3 separate regions of the Homo sapiens genome follow, and regions 1 and 2 are each linked to region 3. The links are contacts of gene promoters, found by promoter capture Hi-C in blood cells and fetal thymus (Javierre and others, 2016). All regions are on one chromosome and are shown on one strand. Each heading gives the region's core, a stretch centred on a gene start or on the middle of the fragment in contact. The rest is flanking DNA. Distances are from core to core; before and after follow the strand shown.

Region 1 (2,851 bases), core at 9-2,508, 160 kb after region 3:
ATGGTGGCACATGCCTGTCATCCCAGCTACTCAGGAAGTGGACACAGGAGAATCACTTGAACCCAGGAGGCGGAGATTGCAGCGAGCCAAGATCGCGCCACTGCACTCCAGCCTGGGCAACAGGAGTGAAACTCCGTCTCAAAAAAAAAAAAAAAAAAAAAGTTAAATGAATTAACACTTTGAAAATGAAACATTTGCCGGGCGCAGTGGCCACGCCTGTAATCCCAGCACTTTGGGAGGCCGAAGCGGGCGGATCACGAGGTCAGGAGATCGCGACCGTCCTGGCTAACACAGTGAAACCCCATCTCTACTAAAAATACAAAAAATTAGCAGGACATGGTGGCGAGCGCCTGTAGTCCCAGCTTCTCGGGAGGCTGAGGCAGGAGAATGGCATGAACCTGGGAGGCAAAGCTGGCAGTGAGGCGAGATCGTGCCACTGCACTCTAACCTGGGCGACAGAGTGAGACTCCGTCTCAAAAAAAAAAATAAAATAAAATAAAAGAAAATGAAACATTTAGTTTCTCATTCACACTGGCCGCATTTCAAGGGCTTGGTAGCCACATGTGGCCAGTGGCTACTGTATTGGCACGGTAGATCACAGCGCATTCCCATCACTGCAGATGTGAGATTTCATTGCCTAGACTCTATGTGCAAACAACTTGGGTTCAAGTCTTAGCCCTGCAACTTGCAAACTATGTCTGTGTGACCTTGGGCGAGTCACCTGCCCTCTTGCCCTAATTTCCCCCTTCTGTAAAATGGGGATAAAATTGGCACTCACTTGGAAGACAGCCCCAGAAGAGGGTCAGGCTCCTCCTGCTACTCAGGCCCAAAATTTAAGGGGGTGCCCAAAACGCCAAAATCAAGATACATAATATCATAATACAGTATTTTTTAAAATGAAAATTAATGCCAAAAAAAAAAAAACCCATGATGAACTCGGTATCAAAAATGTAACTGAAGGCCGGGCGCGATGGCTCATGCCTGTAATCCCAGCACTTTGGGAGGCCCAGGCGGGCGGATCACGAGGTCAGGAGATCGAGACCATCCTGGCCAACACGGTGAAACCCCGTCTCTACTAAAAATACAAAAAATTAGCCTGGTGTGGTGGCGGGCGCCTGTAGTCCCAGCTACTCGGGAGGCTGAGGCAGGAGAATGGTGTGAACCCGGGAGGCGGAGCTTGCAGTGAGCCGAGATCACGCCACTGCACTCCAGCCTGGGCGACAGAGCGAGACTCCATCTCAAAAAAAAAAAAAAAGTCACTGAAGACAGGATCCTATCCGCCTCGCTGGGCTCCCCCTAATCCTGGCCCTGTTGGATCCCGTCTTTGGTTAAAATGTTAACTTTGGTTAACTGTGGATCTTTTGGATTAATTTTGATTGTTTAAAAATATTGCATAAAAACGCTTGAGCCCAGGAGTTCGAGGTTACAGTGAGCTATGATCTTGCCACCGCACTCCAGCTTGGGCGACACAGCCAGACTTTATCTTAAAAAATAAAAAAATCCATAAAAGTATTTATTTTGATTACTAACATTACCCTTCGGAGCCCTCTTTGGTCTCCCTGCCTCCCCTGGCTCCGCACATCTCCCAGTCCCCCGCTGGCTCAGAATCCTCCCGTATGCTGCACGCTTCTGAGCACTCCCGCCCCCTCCCGCACCCCAGCACCCCACGCATCCCTCCCTCACCTCACCCTCCTGCACCCGCTCCCGCAACCCGCGTGCCCCTCGGCATCCCCGAGTCCGGAGCATCCCCGCATCCTCCCGCAGTGGAGGACGCCAGGTGGCGCCTGGAGCCATCGGAGGACGTAGGGAGGAGGGGCCCTAGGGCCGGGTGAAGTCTGCCGGTGACCCATGACGTCTCGAGGCTCTGTGCCTTTCCATTGGTCGGCTCCTCGAGGGGCGGGGCGGGACGCGTGGTGGGCGGAGCCGGTTGACCTCAGACCGTCCGTCTGTCTTTCCTCCTCCTCCAGGTTCCCCGAGGAAACCGTGGCCCGAGCGCCGGCCACCGCGGCCCGCTGCGACCAGGACAGCGCCCCCAACCCCGTCCCCAGGTCCCTCCGCCTCTCCGGGACCCCCAGGCCCAGCGCTGACCTCTGACTCCAGTCGAGAGCTCACTCCCCACTCAGCCTTGACGTCCGAGGCGACCTCTGACGCTCCGGACACTTCACCACCCACCCCAGACCCGGCCTCCCGGACGAACCCCGACCTCATCTTGACAAGCCCTGACTTTGCTTTGTCCACCCCTGACTCCAGTGTGGTTCCCGCGTTGACCCCGGAGCCCTCACCCACGCCCTTACCCACCTTGCCCAAAGAGCTGACCTCTGACCCTTCTACACCGTCGGAGGTGACCAGCCTTTCCCCTACCTCAGAGCAGGTCCCAGAATCTGACACAACCCCAGATTTGGACACAACTCCATACTCCAGTACAGTCTCAGAATATTCTAGATCCCCAGACCCCTCCCCAAGCCCTCACCCCACTACTACCCCTGATCCCACCATGGCCCCTGACCCCATCACAACCCTTAACCCTACTGTGACCCCTCACTTCCCTACCACCCCTCACCCCACCACGACCCCTCACCCCACCACCATCACTCACTCCACCATGATTCCTGACCCCACCACAACCCCTCAACCCTTCACCACCATCACTCACTCCACCATGATTCCTGACCCCACCACAACCCCTCAACCCTTCACCACCATGCAGCCCACCACAACCCCTCACTCCACAACCCCTCACCCCACCACGACCCCTCATCCCACCACCATCACTCACTCCACCATGATTCCTGACCCCACCACAACCCCTCAACCCTTCACCACCATGCAGCCCACCACGATGCCTCATCCC
Region 2 (3,087 bases), core at 239-2,738, 140 kb before region 3:
GTCTCTTGAGAATGTGGCATCTGCAAGCAGCCAACACTGCTTAAGAATGAGTGCTCAGTGCCTGCAAAGGAGATCTGGGTGAAGCACCAGCGACGTCCACCCCTAAAGCCTCACACCTGTTACCAGTCCTGAGCCAGTTCTCAGTCTTGGAACCCCTTCCATGTAGCGGATGCTTTTCCCTCAGGGAGGACTCACCGATACTAGTCAAAGTACATACTGTAAACCTTCCTCCCAGTTTCTCCTAAAGGCCAATATCCATGGTCGCTGGGGATTAGAGAAAGAGAAAAGGCTACTGGACTCTGACTCTGAATCAATCCTAATTTGGAGGCACACACAGGTCACCGTGAATCATGGTCTGACTGGTGTGCTTGGGGCTGTCAGGTAACGAACGGAGGGTTCACCTAAAGACCATCACACAGTGGGTCAACGGGACTCTAAAGACCCTGTGTGGCTCCTTCCTCAGGCCTTGAGAGTGAAGTTGAAATCGACATTCTCATAAAATGGCAGACACAATGCTTTGGCTTCCCTGATCTGTAGTGTGAAAGCTTTGATGGTGGGAAGAAGAAATGGAAGCCCCTAGAAATTCCCCCATCTATATTGGGCCAGTCTTTCATTGCTATAAAGAAATACCTGAGACTGGGTAATTTATAAAGAAAAGAGTTTTAATTGGCTCGCGGCTCTGCAGGTTGTACAGGAAGCGTGGTGCTGGCATCTGCTCAGCTTCTGGGAAGGCCTCAGGGAGCTTTTCCACTCATGGCGGAAGGTGAAGAGGGAGCAGGCACATAACATGTCGAAAGCAGGAGCAAGAGAGAGAGGACGGGAGGTGCCACACACTTCTATTTTTTTATTTTATTATTATTAAATTTTTGAGATGGAGTTTCCCTCTGTCACCCAGGCTGGAGTGCAGTGACACCATTTTGGCTCACTGCAACCTTCACCTCCTGGGTTCAACTCCCAGCTAGTTTTTGTATTTTTAGTAGAGATAGGGTTTTGCCATGTTGTCCGGGCTGGTCTCAAACTCCTGACCTCAGGCGATCCAATGCACCTCGGCCTCCCAAAGTGCTGAGATTACAGGTGTGAGCCACCGCGCCCGGCCTTGCCACGTACTGTAAAATACCCAGATCTCTTGTGAGCTCACTCATCACCATGGGGATGGTACTAAACCATTCATGAGGGGTCCATCCCCAAGATCCTAACACCTCCCACCAAGTCCGGCCTCCAACACTGGGGATTCCATTTCAACATGAGATTTGGTGGGGACACAGATCCAAACCATAGTATCATCCTTCCCAAACAGTCAACCCAGGGAATCACAGAGATCAGCGCCAGCATCAAGCCTTGGAAAACACAGGGGTGGGATATGGGAGGGTGATTCCTAAACATTATCCTTTGATTCACATGATTAATCTATGCAGGAGCTTATGGATCTTGGAAGACAGAAGTAAGAAATGGTGATACTGGCCGGGCTCAGTGGCTCACGGCTGTGATCCCAGCACTTTGGGAGGCCAAGGAGGGCGGATCACGAGGTCAGGAGATCAAGACCACGGTGAAACCCCGTCTCTACTAAAAATACAAAAAATTAGCCGGGCGTGGTGGTGGGCACCTGTAGTCCCAGGTACTTGGGAGGCTGAGGCAGGAGAATGGCGTGAACCCGGGAGGCAGAGCTTGCAGTGAGCAGAGATGGCGCCATTGCACTCCAGCCTCGGAGACAGAGCGAGACTCCGTCTCAAAAAAAAAAAAAAAAAAATGGTGATACCCTCGGAAGTGGCTGGTCTTCTCAGGGTAAGGTCTCCTTCAGCAAATCAGCACAGCCCCTGGCACCTGATATTCAGCTAATGAACTGGAAAAGGCGTTTTGCCTATAGAAGTTAGCCTGAATGAAGAGTGTTCTTTACTCCAACAGTGACAGAAGGTCAGTGTGATTCCCTTTAGACTGTCTGGGACCTCGGTCATCTTATCAACCCATAAGACATCACGCTGTTCCCCCTCACTCCTGGATAGCAATTTATCCTCACTGGAATGGACACTTACAGGTGTTTATTAATTTCTCAGTGATTTGTTGAATGAATGAAGGAATGAATGAATGAATGATGTCTTTACCTTGAGATTGGAGTTCTTTCAGATTTGCTCTCTGCCCACCTCACCAGCCTCTTCTCCTATCTTTACTCCAGCTACACAGATGTCCGTGCATGTTTTTCTTAGCACTCCAGGTGGATTCAAACCTCAGGGCCTTTGCACACACTGTTCCCTCTGCCTGGTAAAATATTTCTCCACCAGCCAGGGCCTACTTCTCTTTCTACTTCTGGTTGACCCCAGATACAGTTGGCCACTCCCTCCTATGTTTGGAGCCAAACTAAACAAATCTCTTATTATAATACTCATCACATTGTCTGTGGCTTTGCCTATTTTTCCTTTCTTTTATCAGAGTGGAAGAAGCTTCTTTGGGTAGAGACAAGTCTATTCATCTTGGGGGACATCAGGCCAACTCCACACCGAAGGCTGATGAAACTTCAGGCAATATCCCTTCATCTGAATCTGATGACGTGTGTCACGTTTTCCAGGTCCACACTCAGGGATCTGGTCTGCGTTTTCATGTAAGCTTTCTCCACTCTCACTTTCCCTGGACTCTCATCCAGGATTAGATTTTTTTTTTTCTTTTAAATGGAATCTCATTCTGTCACCCAGGCTGGAGTGCAGTGGCACCGTCTCGGCTCACTGCAACCTCTGCCTCCTGGGTTCAAGCGATTCTCCTGCCTTGGCCACCACGCCTGGCTAATTTTTGTATTTTTAGTAGAGACGAGGTTTTGCCATGTTGACTACGCTGTTCTCGAACTCCTGACTTCATGTGATCCACCCGCGTCAGCCTCCCAAACTGCTGGGATTACAAGCATGAGCCACCACGCCTGCCGCGATTAGATCATTGATCTCATTGCAGGTGAACCAGTCCAGACCCCCATCCAGGTTTTCCAGCTTGCTCGCTCCTCACGCTGTGGCTGTGTCCTGTGTTGCCGTGTTTCCGCTGAATCCAGCCCTTGTTTTCGCTCTTCCTGGCCTTGCGGGCAGCCAGGATTGAAAGATCCAGGAAGTG
Region 3 (2,748 bases), core at 138-2,637:
ACAGTGTTGAGAACTGGGGACCCTGGGCTGGCTCGTAGCTGTCAACGCGAGGCATCTACCTGCTGGAATGGAGAGGGAGAAGGGGGACGGGAGGCATTCGGCTTCCTGTCTTAGGGCCTTGACTGCCTGCTGCTACCTGATGGAGCAGCAGTCCCCCACCTGCCCCTTATCGGAAAAAGCAGCGTTAGCCCGGACACAGGCACACGGAGGATCCCCACCACCACCACGACGCATCGCTGGCTGGGCATTAAGAAGAAACATCAGCAACAGCATACCATTATTCGTGGCTTAGACACTGGGAGGTAGGGGTGGATAACCGAGACCCGGGGCTCCGCGAGACAAAAAGATGCAGGATCACTGCATCTTCAGAGGAAGCCGCGCTGGGGCAGTCAGATTTTGCCGGCGAAAATCCCGTTCTTGATCTGCTCGTTCCAGCTCTCCACCTGGGAAGCAGAAAGGCAGGGAGCGGGACGCCGGCTCAGCCTCGGCCGAGCCCTGCACACGCCTGGCCCGGCGCCCCCTCTGCCGACTCACCCAGCTGATGGGGCACAGCGAGTGGTACACGCGGAAATAGTACTCGCAGGGCTGCGTGCTCTTCCCGCGGCGGGTCCTGGTCTTGAGGCAGCGGTGGTAGTCTGTGGCGGGCGGGGGTCACGCGGCAAGCCACGCCCATTCCAGGACAGGACCCGCCCCTCCACTGCTCGGGCCCTCCCAGTTCTTCGCTGCTTCGTCCCGCCTCCCTCTCCCCTGGAGGCCTCCGTCCCGCCCCTCCCAGCCAGGCCCCGACCCCTACCTCCCTCACACTGCTCCTCCTACCCAGACCCTGCCCCTACCTACCTCGCCCCGCACCTTCACGACTCGGCCCCGCACCTTCCAGATCAGGCCTCGCCCCTACCAACCTCGCCCCGCCCCTCCAGGCTCAGCCCCGCCTTTTCTCGACCAGGCCCCGCCCCCACCAACCCGGCCCCGCCCGGCCTCCCACCCTAACGGTCTCCGCGGGACTTAGGGTGGGAGTGCCCCTCCCTGCCGTCCCTTGTCACACCCTGCTCCTCCCATAACCTGGCTGAGCAGGTCTCACCCAGGAAGTTCTGGTAGCAGTTACGGATCTGGTTCTGGCTGGGGAAGCGCGGGTCGAAGGGCGGCGTCGACCATTTCCCCTTGGGGGGCTCCTGGGCTTCCACATCCAACATCCACGAAGGAGGCAACTCCTGCGAGACGGGACGGGACGGGGACTCCGTGGGGCCGAGGGGGCGCCCTCGCTCCGACCCGTCTCCCCATCCTGACCCCCGCCCCTGAACCCCACCCGTCGTGCCCTCACCAGCCTGACGTTGGCGGCCACTGGATCTGCTGTGGGATGGTCCCGGGGTGCCGCTCGCTTCTGAGTCCGCGGGGTGCGGTCCCACCCGGGTCAGGAGAAACGCACCCCGCGGCCGGATTGGCTAGGACGCCCGAGCCCCAGCCAATGGGAGCCGTCGTGCACCGCGGGGCTGGTAGGGGCGCCCCCACCCCACCCCTTGCTCCCCCGACGCCCCCTCGGGGGCCTGCGCGTGCACACAGGCACCGAGGTGCGACTCGCTGAGTCTCAGGCTCAAGCTTTAATCTCTGCGAAGTTGGGCGGCTCCACGGGCTCGCCCCCGCCCCCCCCCGCCCCCCAATATATAAAGGCATATCCATAGTTCTGGTATCTACCAGAGGGGGCAAATCCCCCCAAGCGGCTTTCAACATTCCGCTTCCTACAGTCGGTGCGCACAGAACCCTCGGGGCCTGTGGGGTTAAGAGGAAAGAGCAGCGGTGGGGTCCGGGCTCCTGGGAACCCCCCCGCCCCCCTCGTCCTCCCCCCTCCGTTACCCGCCCCCCCCACCCTCCTCCCTCGCCCCCCTCCCCCCGCCCCCAGGTCTAAGGCAGATCTCCAGGGTCTTAAAGGGTACCTGGCAGCGCTGGGCTCCTCTGGACAGTTTCCAACTGAGGTTAAGCCCCCGCATCCGGCCACTCGGAGTGCTGGGAGTGCTGCAGGCTGCAGGGAGAAAGCAAGCCAGAGAGAGCTTTGGGGGACAGGGTAGGGAGAGAGGGGTACCCAGGGCTTTAAGAGCTGCAGATGCCTGGCTTAGGAGAGCGTCCCCCAGGGCGGGTCTTGCTGTGTGTTTGGCTCACTGTTGTATCTGCCTGGGGCAGAGTCTGGCAGTAGTAAATGCACAATAAATCCGAGGCGGAATCAATGAGTCTTGGCTCTAGGGGCAGACAAGTAACTGGAATCTGGGCAGGTGGTTTCACCTCTAGATCCCTGCTAAGCTTCTCTCCCTCCTGCCTGGTTAATATCAGGCCTGACTCAGGATTGTTTACACTGACAGCCAAATGTACGAATTAAGAATCCCGGCCAGGTGCGGTGGCTCATGCCTGTAATCCTAGCATTTTGTGGGGCAGAGGCGGGAGGATTGCTTGAGTCCAGGAGTCTGAGACTAGCCTGGACAACATGGTGAAACCCCATCTCTACAAAAAATACCAAAATTAGCCAGGCGTGTTGGTGCGTGCCTGTGGTTCCAGCTACTGAGGAGGCTGAGGCAGGAGAATCACCTGAGCCTGGGTAGCTTGAGGCTGCAGTGAGCTGTGATGGCATCACTGCACTTCAGTCTGGGCAACATGTGAGACCTCTTTTCTACAAAAAAATCAAAAACTTGGCTGGGCTTTTGGAGGCTGAGGCAGGAGGATCACTTGAGCCCAGGAAGATAAAGGCTGCCATGAGCCACGATC

The links. Contacts are between HindIII fragments. The CHiCAGO score rates a contact against its expected background, and 5 or more counts as called.
Region 1: a contact is called between a fragment that was not itself captured here and the fragment with the promoter of COX6B2 in region 3, in 1 of 17 cell types (fetal thymus). The highest score is 6.2, in fetal thymus.
Region 2: a contact is called between a fragment that was not itself captured here and the fragment with the promoter of COX6B2 in region 3, in 5 of 17 cell types (total CD8 T cells, erythroblasts, naive B cells and 2 more). The highest score is 8.1, in total CD8 T cells.

The regions. Positions count from the first base shown.
Region 1 is chr19:55,515,257-55,518,107 of GRCh38, forward strand. SSC5D (scavenger receptor cysteine rich family member with 5 domains) reads left to right here. Exons shown (of 14, transcript NM_001144950.2): 14 at 1,968-2,851. Among named protein-coding and RNA genes, the nearest start is that of SBK2, 20 kb to the right of the region's middle. RefSeq lists an enhancer at 1,650-2,151 and silencers at 1,671-1,830, 1,961-2,140. The HindIII fragment of the contact is 6,972 bases long and covers 1-2,851 here.
Region 2 is chr19:55,213,558-55,216,644 of GRCh38, forward strand. It overlaps LOC124904771 (a long non-coding RNA gene), which reads left to right and starts at 2,032. Exons shown (of 2, transcript XR_007067346.1): 1 at 2,032-3,087. The HindIII fragment of the contact is 1,890 bases long and covers 544-2,433 here.
Region 3 is chr19:55,353,332-55,356,079 of GRCh38, forward strand. It overlaps COX6B2 (cytochrome c oxidase subunit 6B2), which reads right to left and starts at 1,388. Exons shown (of 5, transcript NM_144613.5): 1 at 1,319-1,388; 2 at 1,079-1,208; 3 at 535-635; 4 at 276-443. The coding sequence starts at 1,190. The coding sequence ends at 390. GARIN5B (golgi associated RAB2 interactor family member 5B) reads right to left here. Exons shown (of 11, transcript NM_001145402.2): 10 at 1,929-2,014; 11 at 1,577-1,764. The coding sequence ends at 1,969. RefSeq lists silencers at 703-812, 923-972. The HindIII fragment of the contact is 2,438 bases long and covers 1-1,591 here.